4 separate regions of the Homo sapiens genome follow, and regions 1, 3 and 4 are each linked to region 2. Evidence: promoter capture Hi-C in human tissues and cell types (Jung and others, 2019). All regions are on one chromosome and are shown on one strand. Each heading gives the region's core, a stretch centred on a gene start or on the middle of the fragment in contact. The rest is flanking DNA. Distances are from core to core; before and after follow the strand shown.

What was found. Contacts are between HindIII fragments. The study calls those that stand out against the background at their distance.
Region 1: a contact is called between a fragment that was not itself captured here and the fragment with the promoter of BTBD1 in region 2, in 1 of the 25 tissues and cell types used here (liver).
Region 3: a contact is called between a fragment that was not itself captured here and the fragment with the promoter of BTBD1 in region 2, in 1 of the 25 tissues and cell types used here (mesenchymal stem cells).
Region 4: a contact is called between a fragment that was not itself captured here and the fragment with the promoter of BTBD1 in region 2, in 1 of the 25 tissues and cell types used here (lymphoblastoid cells).

Annotation. Positions count from the first base shown.
Region 1 is chr15:83,578,079-83,581,196 of GRCh38, reverse strand. The region is part of intron 6 of SH3GL3 (SH3 domain containing GRB2 like 3, endophilin A3); the gene reads right to left. Among named protein-coding and RNA genes, the nearest start is that of ADAMTSL3, 74 kb to the left of the region's middle. The HindIII fragment of the contact is 6,416 bases long and covers 1-3,118 here.
Region 2 is chr15:83,065,783-83,069,197 of GRCh38, reverse strand. BTBD1 (BTB domain containing 1) reads left to right here and starts at 1,946. Exons shown (of 8, transcript NM_025238.4): 1 at 1,946-2,447. The coding sequence starts at 2,047. MIR4515 (microRNA 4515) reads right to left here and starts at 1,863; the gene lies at 1,783-1,863. RefSeq lists enhancers at 1-61, 1,499-1,548, 1,559-1,678 and silencers at 1,739-2,218, 2,459-2,628. The HindIII fragment of the contact is 16,507 bases long and covers 192-3,415 here.
Region 3 is chr15:83,994,742-83,997,718 of GRCh38, reverse strand. All of the region lies in intron 23 of ADAMTSL3 (ADAMTS like 3), which reads right to left. Among named protein-coding and RNA genes, the nearest start is that of GOLGA6L4, 240 kb to the left of the region's middle. The HindIII fragment of the contact is 7,176 bases long and covers 1-2,977 here.
Region 4 is chr15:83,834,030-83,837,370 of GRCh38, reverse strand. All of the region lies in intron 6 of ADAMTSL3 (ADAMTS like 3), which reads right to left. Among named protein-coding and RNA genes, the nearest start is that of ADAMTSL3, 180 kb to the right of the region's middle. The HindIII fragment of the contact is 3,077 bases long and covers 1-2,914 here.

The DNA.
Region 1 (3,118 bases), core at 63-2,562, 510 kb before region 2:
ACTCCAGTCAGGGTTCTCCTCACATCAGTCAGAGTTTTGGCAAACAGTTTCTTTTGAGGCATTCCCCGGTGAAGCTTTTATTGCGTCTTAGCCAGGATGATGAGACATGAGGGCTGGAGAAGGCACCAGCTCTTCCCCCAGGGTGAGATTTTGGTCTTTGAATTGTCAGTGCCAAACAGAGATGGACAGGTAGCACAAGAGCACCAAGCACACCCATCTCAGAGGATTTCCCTTCATTTGCTTCTCTGCTTATTCACTTTCTCTTTGGAGCGAATGCTTCTAAGTCCTCTCGCCAGGCCCTCCTCTTCCTCCTCTTGTGGATGAGGTTGGGGGTGCTCCCTAGTTAGTAGGATGGGTTGCTCTGCCTCAGTCACTGGCTCTGCAGGGTTGGGGCCAGCAAGGCTCCCACTCACCCAGCTTCAGCGTCTCAGGCTGTATCTGGGTGGTAAGACAGGCGGGCTCTCCCCTAGAGCTGGCTGTCATCCACCGAAGGTGCAAGGAGGGGAAAGTGCCAACAGGACTTTAGGCCCAGGCCATGTCCTTCAGCACAGTTGACCAGGAGGTCTGTATTTTACAATTTTCAAGCATTCTCATCAGTTAAAGAGATGTCCCTTGATTCCAATCCGGCTTTTTTGTCACTTCCTCCATTGGTCAGAACCCAAAGGGTGAATGGCTGTGACTGACATCCCCAAACTTCCCACCACAGTAACAGAAGCATGTCCCACTTGTGTCTGGAGGAAGTGTCAGGGCCTCTGCTGCCTGCCACCAGGCTTCCCTTGCAGCCACTCATTTGACAGTTTGTGCACCTTGTCTCCAGCAGGTACCAGATCAGGTAGAAACACCGTCCAATCCATCAGGCAGCAGCACCCAAAGACCCACTGTGTTTGACATGGCGATTAGAACAGGTCCCAGCCATCTTTAGTTTCTGCCAGGAAATCCAGCCCTCCCCAGCCATCCCGAAGCACAGCTCCTCATGCAGGACTTCCCCACCAGGAAAGGAAGCAACATGGCAACAAGAGGTTGAGTGACCAAGGTTGGACGTGCGGGTTGTGACTCACAGGGAGCAGGAAACCAGAGTCCCATGGGCTACAAGGCCACCAGCTCTGGCCTGGTTGTTGGAGATGGGCCAAACACAGGGCCAAGGGTTCAATGTATGCCCCATCAACCATGTATTGGCATTTTGTCTTTCTCCCAACTAGTCACATTCTCTGTTTATCCCCAAGCACCAGGCAGTATCGGCATTGGCATGTCAGGTCCAAGGAGTGACCAGCAGGAGATTTTTCTCTAGCTTGTCTGGTCAACAGGAGAGGATGGTCAGACCACCTGGCTATGGCACAGACACACTGACATGGAAAAGGATCAGGTGATTCCCTCTGATCTAACTGCTGTTGACCCCAAGAAGAGAGTAAGATGGGCTTCTGAAGCCTAAACAATCATCTCTGAGTCTCCTCAGCTATAAACCTGGGTAGGAGAAAAGGTAAACGCACATGCACCATGACAGGGACCATCAACAGCACCCCCTTAGCCTCTTTATCATGGGGTGTCAGTGAATGGTAGCTCTTGTCATTGTCATCATCATTATCACCACTGTCTTTATCATTATCACGATCACCACCATTACCGCAAGAAGCAGCAGCCAGAGCACACCTAGCAGCCATTGCAGCTACAGATGGCAGGAAGCAGGAAGCAGGAAGGAGGGAAGAGCCTAGTTCCCGGGCAGCCTGGGCGGCCCATCTCCGTTTCATAACGTTGGTCTCCTCCCACCTCAATGGCAGAAGTAGAAGCCAGACAACCCCTCCTTGTGAAGGTGAAGACCCCAGGATCCAGGCTGAGGGAGCAGCCCTGACTCCCCAGAGCTGAACAGGGGAAACCTCCACTCACCTGCAGGTCAATTTCCCACAGGAAGCCTTGGAGGAAACACTGCAACCAGGCCGGAGCAAGGCCAGCACCAGAGCCCCTGCGGAGCTTGGGCTAGGAACCAGCTCTTACTTCTGCTGGGGCAGGGTGGGAGGACTTAACCCATTTGTGACAGGCAGAATACGTGTTACTGTCAAAACATGGACAAATGATTGAGCTTTTATAATGAAGGGATCCTTTTTGACTTTTGACTGATACTGAGGGGGAAAACTGAGGTCTCTTGGGTCAACTGCTAAGGCCGGCGTGGCTCAGACAGGCTTCCCTCATGGAGCACTTCGCAAAAACCCATCATTGTGGTTCCCGCATGAAGGCAGTGAATGGAACAAATGGGTCAGACGGCGCATCTGACACACAAGACACAATCTCAGAGTTTAAGCCATGAATGGGCCTGGAGCCAGCAGGGCAACATTCCATATGGCCCAACAAGGAGTATCTGATACATGTCACACTTCAAATACATTTTCTAAAGACTTCAAAACAATACGGCAATCTGAAACAAAACAAAATCGCTGTTGCTTGGGGACAATTTCAAGAGGAAATTTATACATTTAAAGAAAAACAGAGATACCAAACTGTCACACCTCCTCCTATTTCCCAAAAAAAATGTAAAAAAAAAAAAAAATTAAAAGAAGAAACACAGTAGAGTGTACTTTTCAGGCCTCAGTGGTTTAATGGGCATGGGAAATTTCAAATTGGCATTTCCAGTTGGGAGAATAAATTCTCCAGGATGAATGTCTTGTTAGTATTGGACATAATTCCTCCATACATCACCATGGTAAATAAAGGGTGCTCAATGCATTTTGACTTGACTCAAAGGATGTAAGACCTCAGTGTACCTTTAAATAAACTGTTATAAGGACGACATGGTCTTGAGGATAAATAAACCTCCTGACTTGTTCCCACAGGTTTAAAAACTTAACAATTAGGTCCCATACTAATGCTGGGGCTGAGACAGCTCCTGGCATCGCTGAAGCCAGGCTGAGGGCAGGGGCTCCGGAGGGAGGCAGGTGGCTGACACCTCTTCCACTCAGGCAGTCAAAGTGCCAATGGCCCCTTAAACCCAAGGCCGAGCAGGGAGGCCACCCCCAGCTGCGTGTTGCCTGGTCAGGAGTCACCGTCCTCCTTAATTCCATTTCATTTGACTTTACTTGGACAAATCAAATCAAAGCAAATGGCAGGAACCACAGTACAATAGAAGATT
Region 2 (3,415 bases), core at 697-3,196:
TTGCTCTTCAGAAGAAGTCTTTGGGTCCCTGCCATCTTAAGAGCTATAAAACTCATCAGGAAGGTCCACAGCTCCATTCTTGAAGTCAGCAAGACCACGAACCCACCAGAAGGAACGAACTCTGGACACACTAAAAATACAAAAAAAAAAAAAAATCAGCAGGCTTGGTGGCAGGTGCCTGTAGTCCCAGCTACTCGGGAGGCTGAGACAGGAGAATGGCGTGAACGTGGGAGGCAGAGCTTGCAGTGAGCGGAGATCATGCCACTGCCCTCCAGCCTGGGCAACAGAGCAAGACTCCGTCTCAAAAAAAAATTTTTTTAGAGACAAGTGGAGAAACAAATATTAACTGTACATTAAATATTATACATAGGACCAGGCCTGGTGGCTCATGCCTGTAATCCCAGCACTTTGGGAGGCCGAGGCGGGTAGATCACGAGGTCAGGACTTGGAGAGGAGCCTGGCCAATATGGTGAAACCCCGTCTCTACTAAAAATACAAATAATTAGCTGGATGTGGTGACACGCACCTGTAACCCCAGCTACTCGGGAGGCTGAGGAGGAGAATCGCTTGAGCCCGGAAGGCAGACTTCATGCCATTGCACTCCAGCTTTGGCAACAGAGCGAGACTCCGTCTCAAAAAAAAAAAAATCATATATAGATGATTTGATGATATGGTTAATTTTGTTAGGTGTGATAATGGTATCATTAGTAGCATGATGTCCCTTTGTCTTTAGGAATTGCCGGCTGGCAATGGGGAAGGGGTTGTGCATCCACTATTTCAGCCCCTACTACTTTAAGTCTCTTCCCAAGCACGTTCCTCTCCCAAAGAAGTTACCATTCTAAATGCCTAACAGCTGGAAGTCCCCTCTGGTGGTTTCACAAGTGGAGTGATTTTACAGGAGAAACCCAGGTTTGGGGTTTACTATTTACTTGACGGCATTTGTAATCTGTAAGGCTCTTCCTGCAAAGAACAGGTGTTTCCAACTATACGTGCCTGGTCAAGGACTATTTCTTGGGTTTTCTACGTTCTGCTTTTGACAGCTGACTTAACTCAGGGCCTGCCTCACTGAAGGGAGAAAAAGGAAGGCCTCGGTCCCCCAATCATGATGACCGGGTTGTAAATACTGCCTGGGAAGGGATAATACAGCCTTTTCCATTGTGTGTGTGTTTTAGTTTTTAATTTTTTAAATTTCAAGCTTAGGCAGTGGTTCAGTGCAAGGACTGAAAAGCGCTACAAGAGAAGGTGGGCAAGCACGAGGGGTTTCAAATACAGGGGTGGAAGCAGTAGAAGGAAATGTCTCTTAGGCCCAGAGGACGGAACCAAAGGGTCAATTAGAAGGGAAAGGGACCTGCGGACCTGGGGAGAGGTCACTGGGGTTCTAAGCCTTCCACCTCTGCTTCCGGAATTTCCACGGGTTTCGCGGCCTTCTGGAGCGGCGACTTGGCCACGCTTGGGGTACAGGGTTGTGGGAAGTCATGTCATCCCCTCCCTCACGTGTTCCCTTGGCCATACTTTCCTGCCCCTCCACTTCCAGGCAAAACACTCCTCGGGACAGGCCTTGGGACATGTCCCAGATACACAATGGGGGCGCTGGACTTGGTGATAAGGGGCCTGCAGGAAGAAAAAGGCAGCCGTGAGAGCCGCCTGCAGATCCACGATGCATCTTAAAATTACAAATTCTCAGGCCCTACCCCAGACCTACTGAGTCAGAATACCCAGGGCACTGAGCCAGGGGGTGGGTGCCCGTAGGCCCGGCAGCACCCAGCCTGCAGAAGCTCCACCTCCGGGAGCGCTGAGCTAGGACCAGCTCCCCACGCCCCTGCCCTGGGGCTGCCGGGAGTCCAGTCCTGTTACACCTCCCGCGGCCGCGCACAGCGGCAACCCGGGCGTGCGGGGGCGCGCGCGGTCAGGGAGGGGCCTGCGGAGGCGCGAGGCCCCCGGAAGCGCCTTTCCCGGAAGGCAGGGAGGCAGCGCCGGCCTCCGGAGGCGGCCTGGGCGATGGCGGCGGAGTTTTGTCCATAACGTGGGCAACCGCGCAGCTGGAGGATGGCCTCACTCGGGCCTGCCGCAGCTGGGGAGCAGGCGTCGGGGGCTGAGGCGGAGCCGGGCCCCGCGGGGCCGCCGCCGCCGCCCTCACCGTCCTCTCTGGGGCCCCTGCTCCCCCTGCAGCGGGAACCTCTCTACAACTGGCAGGCGACCAAGGCGTCGCTGAAGGAGCGCTTCGCCTTCCTCTTCAACTCGGAGCTGCTGAGCGATGTGCGCTTCGTACTGGGCAAGGGTCGCGGCGCCGCCGCCGCTGGGGGCCCGCAGCGCATCCCCGCCCACCGCTTCGTGCTGGCGGCCGGCAGCGCCGTCTTTGACGCCATGTTCAACGGCGGCATGGCCACCACGTCGGCCGAGATCGAGCTGCCGGACGTGGAGCCCGCAGCCTTCCTGGCGCTGCTGAGGTGAGCGGCAGCGCGGGCCGGGCCGGGCCGGGCCGGGCCGGGCCGGGCCGGGCTGGGAGATCCCCGGGGCCCGGCCTACCCGGACTCCCGGATGACCTTGGGCTGGGCTCTTCTGACCCGCCCGGGGCCTCAGTTTCCTCCCGAGCCGTTGATGCTCCGGAGGGTCGAAATCGAAATCTGTGAACCAGGACGGCTCAGTCGCCAACTAAACGTTAGTGTCTTCATTAGGCAAGCGTGCGTTTTACCATTGAAAGGCGTTTCGCATTCCAATTATGGATTGTCGCTCAGACTTCAGAATTAGACAAGTGGCAAGGATAGAGGGGCAGATCAGGTTGTCCTGATTGCCCATTTGCGAAGTTTTATGTTTTTGTTTGGGGGAAGAGAGTAGTTGAAAAATCTTGCAGGACTGATGTTTTGGGGTTATTGTCACCCCCTTCCCCCCGCTTTTTTTGAGACAAGGTCTTGCTCTGTTGCCCAGGCTGGAATGCTGTAGCGCGATCATGGCTCACTGCAGCCTCGACCTCTCCGGGCTCAGGTGATGCTCCGACCTCAGCCTCCCGAGTATTTGGGACTACAGGCACGCGCCACCACGCCCGGCTAATTTTTTTTATTTTTATTTTTGGTAGAGAGAGGGTTTCACTATGTTGCCCAGGCTGGTCTCGGACTCCTGGGGTCAAGCGATCCGTCCACCTCGGCCTCCCAAAGTGCTGGGATTACAGGCGTGAACCACCGCGCCTGGCCACTTTTTTGTTTTTGTTTTTGTTTTTCATTAACGTATTAGTTGTCAAGACCCAGGAAAGTAAATACGAAAACAGACAAGTGAGGCTTTACCTGCTTTGTGTTTCTACACACAAGGTCACATTTGCTTATAAATGAATCCCTCCCTTGATGTTAGAATTTGCTTGTTGGTTATTTGAGGATAGTAGATTGACATCTAATGAAAAGGTGATTGTTTGGCATTACTAGCT
Region 3 (2,977 bases), core at 305-2,804, 930 kb before region 2:
CACATGTCAAAAAAAAGTCCATTCTCCAAAATTAATGGACATTAATAGTTGCTATATTTGCTTAAAAATTAATGGACATTAATATTTGCTATATTTGCTTCAGTTTTGTTTTGTTTTGTTTTGTTTTTTGAGACGGAGTCTTATTCTTGTTGCCCGGGCTGGAGAGCAATGGCACAATCTCAGCTCACTGCAGCCTCTGCCTCCCAGGTTCAAGCGATTCTCCTGCCTCAGCCTCCCAAGTAGCTGGGATTACAGGCATGTGCCACCACACCTGGCTAATTTTTTGTATTTTTAGTAGAGACAGGGTTTCATCATATTGGCCAGGCTGGTCTCAAACTTCTGACCTCAGGTGATCCACCTGCCTCGACTTCCCAAAGTGCTGGGATTACAGGTGTGAGCCACTGTGCCCAGCCGCTTCAGACCTTTTTTAAGCAATAAAGGATTACAGCTAGAGCTAAAGTTCTATCCCCAAACTTTTCTTCTTTTGTCTCCCAGGAGAACCAACAATCCTGACACTGGTATGTATCCTTCTCTCTCTCTGCTTTTACAAACAATGTTACAATGCACTCTTGAAACTCTCTTTGCAAAAACAGGGCTATATCCACAAGTGAAATGTCTGGTTTTGAGCATCTTTGACTTGATCAGATTTTACAAAATTGTTCTCTAAATTGGTTCATTACATATACACTGTGACCAGCAGTGTATGATGTCCTATTTCTCCATGCTCTTGCCAACCCTTGGTAGTGCCAACTTTTGCCCAATAGATATGAAATGGAATCTCACTTCTATTTTAATTTCCTTAGCAGTGAGGACATTTTCCCTACCAGTGTGGAAATGAGAACATTTTCATATGCCATTATTGGCTATTAGGGTTTCACTTTCTGACAATTGCCTGTTCATATCTTTTGCTCTTTTTTTTTTTTTTTTTTTTTTTTTTTGAGGCAGAGTCTCGCTCTGTTGCCCAGGCTGGAGTGCAGTGGTGCAATCTCTGCTCACTGCAACCTCCGCCTCCTGGGTTCACACCATTCTCCTGCCTCAGCCTCCCAAGTAGCTGGGACTACAGGCACCCACCACCACGCCCAGCTAATTTTTTGTATTTTTAGTAGAGACAGGGTTTCACCATGTTAGCCAGGATGGTCTCGATTTCCTGACCTCATGATCTGCCTGCCTCGGCCTCCCAAAGTGCTGGGATTACAGGCATGAGCCACCGCGCCCGGACTGCTCATTTTTATATTGAGTGGTTTATTTGTATTGATTCAGAGAAGCTATTTCTATATTCTGGTACTATATAACAAATATTTTCTGCCAGAAATGTGGCTTGACTTTTAAATTTATTGACAATGTCTTTCAGGGATCAGAACTTTTATATCTTAACAGCAAAGTGTGTCAATGTTTTTTATAACAGCTTATTGAAATATAATTAATAAACCAAAAAGTTCACCCTTTAAAAGTATAACTCTGTAGTTCTAATATATTCACAGAGTTGTGCAACCCCATCATCACTATACAATAGATGTTTTACTTTATGACTTGTATTTTTTGTATCTTTTCCATTCCAAAGTCATAAAGACATCTCTTATATTTTATGATTTTTAAAAATATGTTCATATTTTAGGCACTTAAATCAATTAGAATTTATTTTTGGTTGAGTTTTTTATATTTATAAACAATTATCCTATAACAATTTACTTACTAGTCTGTCCTTTATTGGTTTTTAATTCTACTGCTATTAAATTTTAGTTTCCATATACTGTATGCTTGAATCTGCTGTGGGCTCCGCATTCTGTTCCATTTATTTGTCTATCCCTCTTACACTGCTGTAAGCCCTCAAGCTTTATGCTAAGTCTTTATATTTGATAGAGCAAATCTCACCCACCTTGTTATTCTTAAAAAATGTTTGGGCTATTCTCAGCCATATGTGCTTTCATATTAATTATAGGATCAGTTTGTTCTAGCAATCCTACAGGATTGCTTTTTTTATTGAAATTATTCTGAATGTAGAGATCCAAAACTTTGTATATTTTCTTTGCTTTTAAATGGGGATAATTATATTATCTATAAATAAGAAGAAATTTTTGTAGTTATTTTCTAGTTTTTATATTTCTAGTTTTGTATAATTTTTCTAGTTATCTAGTCTTGGTTTCTAATTTTCTAGTTCTAATTTTTCTATTTATTTTATCTTATTGCACTGGCTAGTGCTAACGCAGTGTTGAACAGATATAGTGATAAAGGGCATCGTATGTTTTTTCCTGACTTTAATGGGACTGTTTGAGTCTCACCATTAAAGTGAGTATGATGCTTACAATAGGTTTCTGACAGGCAAATCAAGGTAGAGATTATCCCTTCTATTACTGGTTTGCCAAGAGGTTTTCATATCATTTTCGTGTTGAAGTTTATCAGATGCTTTGTCTACATCTATTAAGATGATCCTAAATTTTATCTCCTTAAATCTCTGTGGTAGAGATGGAGATGCTCCACCCAAATCAACCTTCAAGGAGGAACTCAGTGTCCCTGCTCCTGGTAGCCTCTGGTTGTTAGTCCCTTCACAATCTGTCTCCGCCGACCCAAGAGCACATATGCCCCTTCCAGAGAGGCCCACAGCCAGTGACTGCAGGAGGCAGGGGCATGAAGGCCTGGCCACTGTGGGTCAGCCTGGGACAACTCTAATAAGTCACATATGTTTCAAGGGGGCTTGGTGAGACTTTGTGGGCCTGCATCACAGTTCTCCTTTGCCCTCTGTCTAATCCTGCTTGCTTCCTCCCTTCCACATATGTTGACAACTAATATACTATACAAAAACTCCTTCCAGGGCCGGATGCCGTGGCTCATGCCTGTAATCCCAACACTTTGGGAGGCTGAGGTGGGTGGATTACTTGAGGTCAGGAGTTCGAGACCAGCCTGGGCAACATGGTGAAACCCCCGTCTCTACTAAAAATGCAAAAAAAAAAAAAAAAAATAGCCAGGCATGGTGGCTTGT
Region 4 (3,341 bases), core at 127-2,626, 770 kb before region 2:
TCTGGTTCATAGTTTTACTTTAAATATCTTTTTTTTTTCTGTTTTTACTTCTATCTCTAAATATCTATATCCCTATATTAATATCTGTCTATAGTCTTTATCTATATCTTTATATCTCCTTGTCTTTATCATTAGCTGTACCTATGCCTATGTATCTCCACCGCTGTCATTATACCTATATATTTATAAACAATTTTTAAAATATAAAAAATAATTAAAAGGAGAGATGTCTCATATAAAATACGTGTTTATACTGCTATCCTTCCTTCTCTTGTCATTTTTCATGTGTACATATGTGTGTGTATTTGCTATATTATAAGCTTCCTTATATGAGAAAAAAGGTCATGTCTTATATTTCTTTTTTATTTCTTAAGCATATATTTTACATAATGTGTAAACAACAATAATATCAACTGATCTGATGGTTTATCTCTTCCTTCCTTCCCATATTCATCTAACTTTATTTATAAATCTGGTGTTTAAGTGCAGGGACTTTGGAGGAAGAAAACACCCACGTACAAACCTGGATCCACTCACCACCCTTTCAAGCTGCAGGATGTTGAAAAATTCAAACTCTCAGAGACTCGTTTTCCTCAACAGTAAAATAGAGATAATAATACCAATATATACTTCACATAGGGCCTAGTGATGATTCAGTGAGAAAATATATGTAAAATTCTTAGTATAATGATTCAAACACTATAAAGGATTCAATAAAAAAGGGCCAATGTTATTATTTCTCTGTGTTTTTCATCTTATTTTGACTCCTGGGTAGCCCTCATGCTTCAGCTTGGAGAGTTGTTGAATCAGACTCTATATCCAAGCTGTTGAAGAAGAAATGAAACTAGAGGAAGTTGAGACAATTATTTATAACAATTCTTTCCAACATTTTGGTGTTGAAGGGAAAGAGAAAGATCAAGTGAAAATTTCAGGGAGAGATAGTAAGTTTCAAGGAAGTTTAGAGAATAGCTTATGATTAGAGATATTTTCAAATTCACAAAGAGCTATCATGAGGAAAGGGTCTACTTTTGTTCTGTATATTTCCAAATGGTGAAAGCTACAGGTTTAAGCATAATTTGGTTCAATATGAGAAAGTTTGAAAAGTCAGAGTTATCTAATAATAAGTATTCAATCATAGTCTAGGAGATCTCTTGGTGGAAAAATTGTAGGGGGGATTAAATTATTGGATGAGTAGCTTAATCCAATGACTTTTGAGATCCTTTAATCCTGATTATATGATTTTATAAAGATAGTAATACAATATTAATAATTGCTGATTTTTATTGAATGCTTAGCATGTACCTGGCATTATGCCATGAATATTGTACACATTATTTCATTTAATCTTCAGAGCAATTTTGTCATGAGGTGATACCTTTAACTCTATTTTATAAATAAGGAATCTAAACATTACTGAGTAAATGATTTGCCAATATTACACAGCTAGTATATAGTGTTGGTAATGGTTTTAAAACCCAAGTTATCTGACTCAGAATCTTAACACTACATTACAACTTCCTCTACCTTAAGTATCAGCAGATAGACAACAACAACAAAAGCCCAGTTACACAGGCCATTAAATTAACATTTACAAGTACATGTGGAACAACTTAAGAGTGATTGATTTTGGAAACACACTTGCATGGTCAAGATTCAATCAATGAGTAACTTGTGTTCATGCAACTTTCTCCAAGGGGAGTAATACCACTATTAAATTATAGAAACACTGCTCCTGGGCCAAACTCTGTCCTCACACATTCATGTCCCTGAGCACTCTGCATTTCATGAGAATGAGAATCACTCTCTATCTGGTCATCCAGGAAGGGCGTGGGCTTAGGAGCTAGGAGGGGCTTGTTTTGAAGAGTGTTTAAGGCCTTGCAAGATCTCAGGCAATTGAATACCTCCCTGAGCACTGATATTTGCTTCATAATTTTTTTTAAGTTACAATTCATCCAAATGTTATAGCAAAATAAAGCATGTGAAAACATCACAGAAAAATGATATTTGAAAAGAAAGTCTTGCCTTGTGATTCATAACGAATAAGCCAGAAATGCCTTTGAAATTGAGGGGCCACTGAATTTTGGCTTTCATATCCCATCATAATCAACAATAAGCAACTTTTTTTTTTTTTTTTTTTGAGACAGAGTCTTGCTCTGCCGCCCAAGCTGGAGTGCAGTGGTGCAATCTCAGCTCACTGCAAGCTCTGCCTCCTGGGTTCACGCCATTTTCCTGCCTCAGCCTCCCGAGTAGCTGGGACTACAGCTACCCGCCACCATGCCCGGCTAATTTTTTGTATTTTCAGTAGAGACAGGGTTTCACTGTGTTAGCCAGGATGGTCTCGATCTCCTGATCTCGTGATCTGCCCGCCTTGGCCTCCCAAAGTGCTGGGATTACAAGCGTGAACCACAGCGCCCGGCCCAACAATAAGCAACTTCTAAAAAATTGCCTGAAGTGTTTCCAACTTCTATGACATCATCTGAAGTCATGATCTCTAATTATAGTGATTTATTAACTACTAATTGACAGATATATCAATAAAATTTATTAACATCTATTAAATAACCATTTTCTATACTGCCAGACACTACAGAGCATAAATTAATAACATAAGATTCTTACCTTACAGTGTAGTTAATGAGACAAGTTACACAAGATAGTGGATGACATAAACAAATATTTAAAATATATGAGTAGTGCTTTTTGGAATAAATATTCATCTATAAATCATCACTTCAGCTAAAAATTATTTCACAGTTCCTGCATATGATTTCCTAATCAGCTAAAAGATGATAATACTTAAATAAGTGGCACTAGTCCAAATGAAGCAAAATATGAATTTTTCAGAGCAGTCAAATTTAATCATTCAAGAACAAAACAATTTTTTTTTTAAATCAACCGTTTGAAATCTCTGCAAATCAGAATCTAACTTGGGGGAAAAATCTGACATTTCTGCCTTAAAAATCAGAGTATATGGAGCTGTGGTAGTCAGTGGGGATACTCAGAAACATTTTGCTTCAGCCCACAGAAGGTCTGCACTTCTCCACCCCCTTTGAAGTTAGGTGTGGTCATTAACTAACTTTGGCCAATGAAATATGAGTCTAAGTGATTGATCTGTGTCACTTCTATAAGAAGATTTAAGGGTCAGTGTCTGAGTCTCATGTTCCCCTTGCACTATTGCAGTTATTATGTAAAAAATGTGTCCAAATAAAGCCTGAGTCTCCGAGACGTTCTAAGAGCTGAGGCTCCTGTCAACCACTGTTGGGCAAGTGGCATCAGCAAGAAGTAACCTTTAATTGTTTTAAGCTACTGAGCTTTGGGTGTTGTTGGTTACTGCAGGAAAA